Regions from separate parts of the Homo sapiens genome. Here region 1 is linked to region 2. The links are contacts of gene promoters, found by promoter capture Hi-C in human tissues and cell types (Jung and others, 2019). All regions are on one chromosome and are shown on one strand. Each heading gives the region's core, a stretch centred on a gene start or on the middle of the fragment in contact. The rest is flanking DNA. Distances are from core to core; before and after follow the strand shown.

Region 1 (4,254 bases), core at 63-2,562, 120 kb after region 2:
TGAAATATAAAAGTGAAAATGCTAAACCTCCTTGTAATATGCAAAAGAATGTTAAATTCAAAACAGAATATGTATAAAATGACATTTAAAAGGAAAACTATGATCAGGCTGCTGCCAAATGAATATTAGTAAAGAAATATTAGCAGTCAAATATATTAATCATCAGTTTAAAAAAATTGATATATTTCAACATGTAGAGAATTTCCGGGTAATGCAAGACAGTTGACATATTTATTCTTCATTGATTCTCATAGGAGCCATCTCAAAATAGAAGGACTACATCTCCCATCTTTCCAGCTCCTCTGGTCACTGCTCCTGTGATTATCAAGTGTTTATGATCTTGTCTGGCATATCCTTCTCTGTTCATTGAATGACATCCATTTAATGAACAGGGCATTTACTCACTGAGACACTTTGGTGTTGGTGACCATCCTTCTTCTGCGCACGTTATGCGAGTCCAAAAGGATTTTGAAGGAGACACAAAATTATATTCACAGGAGTAATAGAAAACTTCCCCTGTAGGAACTTGGGAAAATGGCTTATATTTTTCTTCATCATATAGAATTCCATGGTTTATTTTTGGAAAATCACAGAACATTGCTGGGAAAATAACACAAAACTGAAGAATTACATAATAAGCTACATAAATAAATCACTAGACTATATTTTAATCATCTCATTTAGTTTTTTTCTTTCATTTAGCTTAAATGCCTTTAGCTTAAATGCTCTCCAGTGTCCAAATTAGGAATGAAAAGACATCACTAACTAAGAGTACACGAGTATTTGAGGAGGTAATTGTTAATGAATATAAAATCTATATTTTGGAGTGATATGAAATATGAACTCTCCTGCAATGTCTTCAAGAAGAAAACCCTCACACAACAATTTAAGAATGAAGGCAGAGTGTAAGACTAGCAAATCTTCCTGATCTACTTAGTATACAGTAGAGGAGTGACAGGGTTGTTCTTAGCTCTCAATTTACTTATTTTCTCTATTCTCATTGACTGTCATAGGTATCTCCACCAGAAACTCTGTCCTATTTTTTTTCTGGTGCAGAAAAGATGTTGGGTAGTTAGTTTTGTTGTTTGTTTATTAATATCATTTTGAATACTTTCTGGTTACAAAGTTAATATAGTTTCAGTGGAAATAATTGAGAGAATATAAGAAAATCACTAAGAACAACTCAAGATAAAGTTAGAGCTAAATTCTGGTTAATGTTGTATATACAAATATGTATTGTATATTTGTATTTATATATTTATACTTGTATACACACATATATATACGGTCAGCCCCACTGGTTTCACATCCTCTGATTCAACCAACTGCAGATCAAAAATATTCGGAAAAAAACAATAAAAAGACAATAAAACAATAAAAATAATGCAATTAAAAATACAATATAACAACTATTTGTATAGCATTTACATTGTATTAGGTATTATAAATAATCTAGAGATTCTTTAAATTGTATGAGAGGGTTGGGTGTGGTAGCTCATACCTGTAATCCCAGCACTTTGGGAGGCTGAGGTAGGTGGATCACTTGAGGTCAGGAGTTTGAGACCAGCCTGGCCAACATGGCGAAAGCCCATCTCTACTAAAAATACAAAAATTAGCCAGGTGTGGTGGTGCACACCTGTAATCCCAGCTACTTGGGAGGCTGAGGCAGAAGAATCACTTGAACCCAGGAGGGGTATGTTGCAGTGAGCCGAGATCATGCCACTAAACACCATCCTGGGGGCGACAGAGCAAGACTCTACCTCAAAAAAAATTAAAATAAAATAAAATAAATTGTTTGGGAGGATATACACAGGTTATATACAAATACTACATCATTCTGTCTTAGAGACTTGCATATCCTTGGATTTTGGTATCTACTGGGGGTGGGTAGAGTCCTGGAACCAATTCCTTGAGGATACTAAAGGACTAGTGTATATATGTATATATACATCCATATACACGATGGTGCAGGAAAAATTAAAACAATGTAGAAAATGGGTGAAATCTTCATACTTTTTGACTCTTTCTTTGTGTACACATTCATATATATACACACATATTTTTATAAGACTTTATATTTTATTAACAAGTTTTTCACAGCAAAATTGAGTGGAAGGTAGAGATTTCTATATACCACTTCCTCTTCCCTACCACATGCATAACCTCCCTCACCGTCAATATAATTATCACCCAAAGTTCATAGTTTATGTTGGGGTTCACTCTTGATGTTGTACATTCCATGGGTTTGATATACTTTATCTTTGAGTATGTATTTAGCTCAAGATAGTTCCTCATATATTACTGCTCTTTGTTTTTATGTCAAGATATTGTTGCAATATAGTACTGTTGCATAAGAAATAATTTTATTTTTCACCTTATTTGGAAGATGTGTGCAGAAATTAAGCTGACAAATCAACAGAAATTTCTCTTTTTCATCTGTCTAGAAGTAATGTTTAATGTTGCACAATATTTGAAATATTTTCACTTTGTGAAACGTGAAACTGATTATCTAACTGTTTAAAATTTGACATTAGATAGTTTTGGTAAAGGTATTGAGGGAAAGACTCCCATCTTGATAGTATTAACCTACCATAACTCTTTTAGTTATCCTTCACTCCTCCAAAATTATAGTAGTTTATTTTCATACATTTGTACTTACATATTCTTTGCTATCCAGAATAACTTGGTTTTCATCACCCAGTTATATTGTACCTATGCTTCAGAATTAACTCTATGACATTCATCAAGTATTCATTGTGCATATCTGCAATGGTGCTAGCTAGGAGTGTTAATGTCTTCTTGCAAGCCTCCTTTACACAACCACCCACTTCAAAAGTAGAAAATAATTTTTCTTGTCTCAACATTCTGATAGAATATTATGAATATATTTCTTCTGGGATACACACACACACACACACACACACATACATATATACAGTTGTACAGATATTCACCACATAATGACATTTTGGTCAATGACTGATCGCTCATGTGACAGTGGACCCATAAGATTATAGTGTAGCTGAAAAATTCCTATCACCTAATAGCCATCATAACATAGCAGTGTAATATATTACTCACATGTTTGTGGCAATGCCGGTGTAAATAAACCTACAGCATTGCCAGTCACATAAAAATATGCCACACACAATTTTGTACAGTACATAATACTTGATGATGACAATATAGAAGTGTTACTGGTTAATGTATTTCATATAGTATAATTGTTATCAGTATTTTATAGTTAACTTCTTCTACTGGTTAAAAAAATTAACTGTAAAACGGTTAATGTTTCCTGAGGCAGATCCTTCAGGAACTATTCCAGAAGAAACCTTTGTTATCATAGGAGAGGACAGCTCCATGCCTGTTACTGCCCTGAAGATCTTCTAGTGGGACAAGAGCGGAGGAAGAAGACAGTGATACTGATGATCCTAACCCTTTGTAGGCTGAGGTTAATATGTGTGTTTGTGTCTGTTTTTAACAAAAAGGTTTAAAAAGTAAATAAATAAGTAAAATATTTAAAAGATAAAAGCTTATAGCACAAGAACAGAAAGAAAAAATCTTTTGTACATCTCTACAATGTTTTTTAAGCTAAATATTATCTCGAAAGACATAAAAATTAAAGTTGATGAAGTAAAAAGGTCAACATAAACTAAGGTTAATTTATTATCGAAGAAAAGTTTAAAATAAATTTAGTCTATCCTGGGTGCATCAAAAGCTCAGTAATTAGCACTGAAGAACTTATCCATGTAACCAAAAACCACCTGCTCCCCCAAAACTATTGAAGTAAATAAATAAATAAAATAAATTAGTTTAGCCTAAGTATACAGTGTTTATACCACCTCTAGTCGTGTATGGTGATGTTCTAAGCCATCACATTCACTCACCACTCATGTAATGACTTACTGAGAGCAACTTTCAGTCCTACACACCCTATTCATGGTAAAAGCCCTATACAAGTCTGCCGTTTTTAATATTTTATACTGTATTTTTATTGTACTTTGCTATATTGAGATAAACATATACTTACAATTGTGCTACAGTTGCCCACAGTATTCAGTACAGTAACATGCTGTACAGGTTTGCAGCCTAGGAGCGACAGGCTATACCATATGGCCTAGTTACCTAGTAGGCTATAAAACCTAGGTTTGTGTAAGTCCACTCTATAATGTTTGAATAAGAAGGAAATCGCCTAAGGACGCACTTCTCAGAACGTGTCCCTATCATTAAGTGATGCATGACTGTTTATACACA
Region 2 (4,554 bases), core at 1,025-3,524:
GCACCAATCAGCACTTTGTAAAAACAGACCAACCAGCACTCTGTAAAATGTGCCAATCAGCGGGATGTGGGCGGAGCCAAATAAGGGAATAAAAGCTGGCCACCCGAGCCAGCCGCAGCAACCTGGTCTGGTCCCCTTCCAGGCTGTGGAAACTTTGTTCTTTCGCTCTTTGCAATAAATCTTGCTGCTGCTCTCTTTTTGGGTCTGCACTACCTTTATGAGCTGTAACACTCACCGCGAAGGTCTGTGGCTTCACTCCTGAAGTCAGCAAGACCTCGAACCCACCAGGAGGAAGAAACAACTCCGGACGCACCATCTTTTAGAGCTGTAACACTCACTGTGAAGGTCTGCGGCTTCACTCCTGAAGTCAGCAAGACCAGGAACCCACCAGAAGGAAGAAACTCTGGACACATCTGAACATCAGAGGAACAAACTCCGGACACACCATCTTTAAAAACTGTAATGCTCACCGCAAGCGTCCGCAGCTTCATTCTTGAAGTCAGCAAGACCAAGAACCCATTGGAAGGAACCAATTCCAGACACACTGCCATGAGGTAGTGCTTTCATGAGAGCATCAGCTGTGGTATATAGGGGAGGATCAGGTGGTGGGTGGGACACTAGAACTTCCAAGAGAATATGACCTTTGTCTTCAGCTACCAGGGTGGGTAGGGAAGGACCATCAGGTGGGGGCAGGGTTAGGCATGTCTGAGCTCAGAGTCTTCTTGGGTGGGGCTTGTTGTGGCTCTGTGGGGAATGGGGGTGTGATTCCCAGGTTAATGGAGTTACCTTCCCAGGAGGATTATGGCTGCCTCTTCTGTGTCATGCAGGTTGTCAGGGAAGTGGGGGAAAGCTGGCAGTTACAGACCTCACCCAGCTCTCACACAACCCAACAAGCAAATCTCACTTCTACTGTGTTCCCCCAAAAAGCACCGAATTTGTTTCCAGGCAGTAGGGGAGCAGGATTGAGAACTTGCCCCAGGCTACTAGCCTCCCAGCTGAGAATGCAAGCCAGACTTTTGTGCCTCCCTACCTGTTAAGTCTGCACACCAGATTCACGCCCTTTCCTGAGTTCTGGACAGGAAAGTTTGTGTTCGGTTGGAATTGTTACTAAGTTCAGCTGGAGGTTTCCTTCTCCCTGTGGTCTTTTCCCAGTTCCTCCGGCAGCCCCTGTGAGACAAGTCAGAAATGGCTTCTCTGGGGACCCACAGAGACGATGGGGCTTTACCCTTTGCTTCCTCTACCCCTGTATTTCGCTCAGCTCTCTAAATTGTCTGAGCTCCAGGTAAGGTCAAATCCTTCTCCTGTGATCTAGACCTTCAGGTTCCCCAAGGGTGTGTGTTCAGGGGTGGACAATACCCCTTTCACACTTTTCACAGTTTGGGCATTCACAGTATGTGGGCTATTTTCTGGGTCATGCAGGAGCAATATACTTTCTTCAGAGGGTCTGTGGATTATCTTGGCTTTCCTGTTATATCCTTGCAGCAGTTCTTGGAGCAAAAGTTCACAATGCGAGTCTCCACATCCTGCTCTGTCCATCCAAGTGGGAGCTGCAAGTTAGTCCTGCCTCCTATCCACCATTTTTTCCTATTTTGTATTTTAAATTAAAACTCATTAGAATGTAAACTCCATGAGGGCAATAATTTTAATCCAGTTTTTTCACTGCTAAATACCTCAAAACTGTTACATGTGCTGCCATTATCATGGACGTTCTAAACATTTCTCATGAATGAATGTTGATATAGCACAGTGCTGATCTCACCACCTGCCACAAAGTAAAAACTCTCTAAATGTCAAACACTACTATTATAAGTAATACTATTCTATCATTGAGACAACTATGGTTCTGTATCTCTTTAAGGAGTGCAGTCTAGGCAACAACATATTTCAACATCAGGTATCTGTTATCTCATGTTCCTAAGTTCATCTTTTTACCTGATCAATATTAGTAAAGATCTATGGCCTCAAGTGAACTTTACTCTATGAATTTACAATTGGGAACTTAGGTTGAAAATTTACCTAGTATTATTTATTCTGCTGCTATAATTTATTATTTATTCTGCTGCTATTGTTGCCCTAATCAGTTATCATGCTCTTACTGGACTCTGACATGGTAAGTAATGTCAATTAATATAGTTGTGTTATTTTAACATTATTTCAAAATATTTTAAGTGAAATATAAGACTCGTTACAAAAGGACTTAGACAGAGGTTATAAATTATTAACTTTTTCCTCAAGAGAAGTATTGTGTACTTAATGACAAGTTCCTAGTGCTTAGAATTGTTAAAATCTTTGTGAAGCACACCACTGAAGATGAGGTTGAAAAACCTGACTTTTATCATCATATTGATAATCTCAGGAGAACTCTATGCAGAAGGTAAAATTAATTCTTAATATTCTTTATTCTCTAAAACATACAAATGGAGATTCTAATATTTATACAACTCAAGTTTTAATATACTCTTCTATTTTCATTATCAATTTTATAACATATTTTATAAATATAACTTTTTATAATATTTAGACCTTTTCCTTTGAGCAAAATTAGTAAAGTGTTCTTACAGTAGCATAAGTCAGAAAAGCAAAACAAAACAAAAACCCTTGTATCTCTAGGGGGCATAGGAGACCAGGATCTAAATACTTCGAAAAGGTTTTCAGGTTAACAATATGTCCATTTCGAAGTCACATGTTAACTTTAATTCTAAATTTATGCTAGAATCCATTCCTAATACTGACAAAACTTGTACAATTTTAATTCTGTTCATAAGGTGAGAGTTTAATGTGGGAAATTTGAAAAGGAAATAGCCATAAATATTTTTTACTTTTGAGACTTTGATTTTTATCACAATGAATTATTCATTTGTTGGAGACATTAAGTAGTGATTAGTAGGTGAACCATATAATTGCTTGTACAAACAGGGACACTTAGAGAGTAAAAGAGGGGCTCTATTAATAACTGTTTGGACAACACATGTAAATCAGGACTTTCCAAACAAACCAATACCTATGGACTCCCTATTAGAAAGCTTTATAGTCAGATTGCCCAATGTGTAAGATTAGTGTGCGAGTGGAAGCTAGGCAGTGTACATGGGTATGTTGTTCAGGAACATTATCAATATTATCAGGCCATAGGATGAAGAATCCAGGGAGGACACTTAGCATTAGCAAGAGTGAACATACAAAGAAGGAAGCTACAGCAATACAGCTTTTCTAAAATAAACATTTTTGGGAATTTGTTGAAATTAAATACATAAGTTTTAACTGTGTTTTAGTTGAATAGTTAACTATAAATTTTCTACCAAAACATCTATAATTAAAATTATAAAAGTGAAAGACACAGAATTAATCTTATTTTATACTTTTAATTCTATAATAGGATGATTTTTGCATGAATTTCTTTTGATTTTATTTTTCTGTCTAAATAGGGAAATACCAGCAGATATAATTGTCTGTTATCTATACCATAAAGACATTGCAATATTCTAGTTAATTTTCTAATTATTATAAGGTTATAATGCTATTTTACACAACAAAAAAAAAAGTAAGCTGCTTGAAGACCAAGACAATGATTTTATTTTTGCATGCTTCTCTCAACTCCCATTGTGCACTTCAGGGACAAGAATTGAATTAATTGTGTTTCTCATTTCATGGTATGCAAGTATTATTGGCCTATGAAAGGTCTCACTCTTGCTTTACTTACACATTTTATCCCCTTATTCCTAATCTTGAAGTCCATTTCCCCTGGGACCTACTACAATGTTTTAACATGTTACTCTAGCTCTCTCAACCACAAATAGCTCTGGAATGAATATTGTAATATAACCAACTTATCTTTCTGTAAGAATGTCATCAGTCTGTATTCACTCACAGATAGCATTATTGAGTCTATTCTTGTACTTGATTTCTGTAATGAGAGATTACTTTTGCAGAATGGCAGTTTTGAAGTATATCATCTCTGAGAGAGGATGTAAATTGTTGCTCCTCATCATTCTCACCAACACCTCATATTGTCCATTTTTGTACTGGTTGCTATATGGTTATTCATAAAGTGATATCCCATTTTTATTTATTTACCATTCTCTGATCAGTAGTAAGTGTGTCCATCGCTTCATGTACTTTTTTTAATATGTTCAGACATCTGTGATTTCCTGGTTTATATGTGATTAGTATATTCCTCACATTTCTCATTAATTTTTTGTCAGGAATTCATATTCTCCAAGGCATTCCAGCTACCTTAACAAATAATGTGCCTATCCTGGTGGTGGAGGGAGATGTCCCAGGACAGAGAGTCTTTAAAGCCACAACCTAGGATTGTTGTGCAGAGAATACTTTGCTGCCCCTCCCTGACAAGCAACTGTGCCCCTCAGGGAAATTTCTTGTGTATTCACCATTGCACTGCTATTTTGGAAGACTCTTTTTATTGTAAATTCCTTTGGTGCTTGGGTGTGAAAAAATGGTGAGAATAATTCTCAAGGAATGGGGACTATCCAGCCCATGTTTTTCTGTCTGCTCCATCAGATAGTGGAAGTTTTGTTGCTCATCATTCCACATCCATTT

What was found. The method cuts DNA at HindIII sites, captures the fragments that hold promoters and counts their contacts. A contact is called where the count stands out against the background at its distance.
Region 1: a contact is called between a fragment that was not itself captured here and the fragment with the promoter of F13B in region 2, in 2 of the 25 tissues and cell types used here (liver and mesenchymal stem cells).

Annotation. Positions count from the first base shown.
Region 1 is chr1:196,945,801-196,950,054 of GRCh38, reverse strand. It overlaps CFHR2 (complement factor H related 2), which reads right to left. Exons shown (of 5, transcript NM_005666.4): 2 at 406-600. Among named protein-coding and RNA genes, the nearest start is that of CFHR2, 4.2 kb to the right of the region's middle. The HindIII fragment of the contact is 5,533 bases long and covers 1-4,078 here.
Region 2 is chr1:197,064,980-197,069,533 of GRCh38, reverse strand. It overlaps F13B (coagulation factor XIII B chain), which reads left to right and starts at 2,274. Exons shown (of 12, transcript NM_001994.3): 1 at 2,274-2,374. The coding sequence starts at 2,311. RefSeq lists an enhancer at 1-1,166. The HindIII fragment of the contact is 20,654 bases long and covers 1-4,554 here.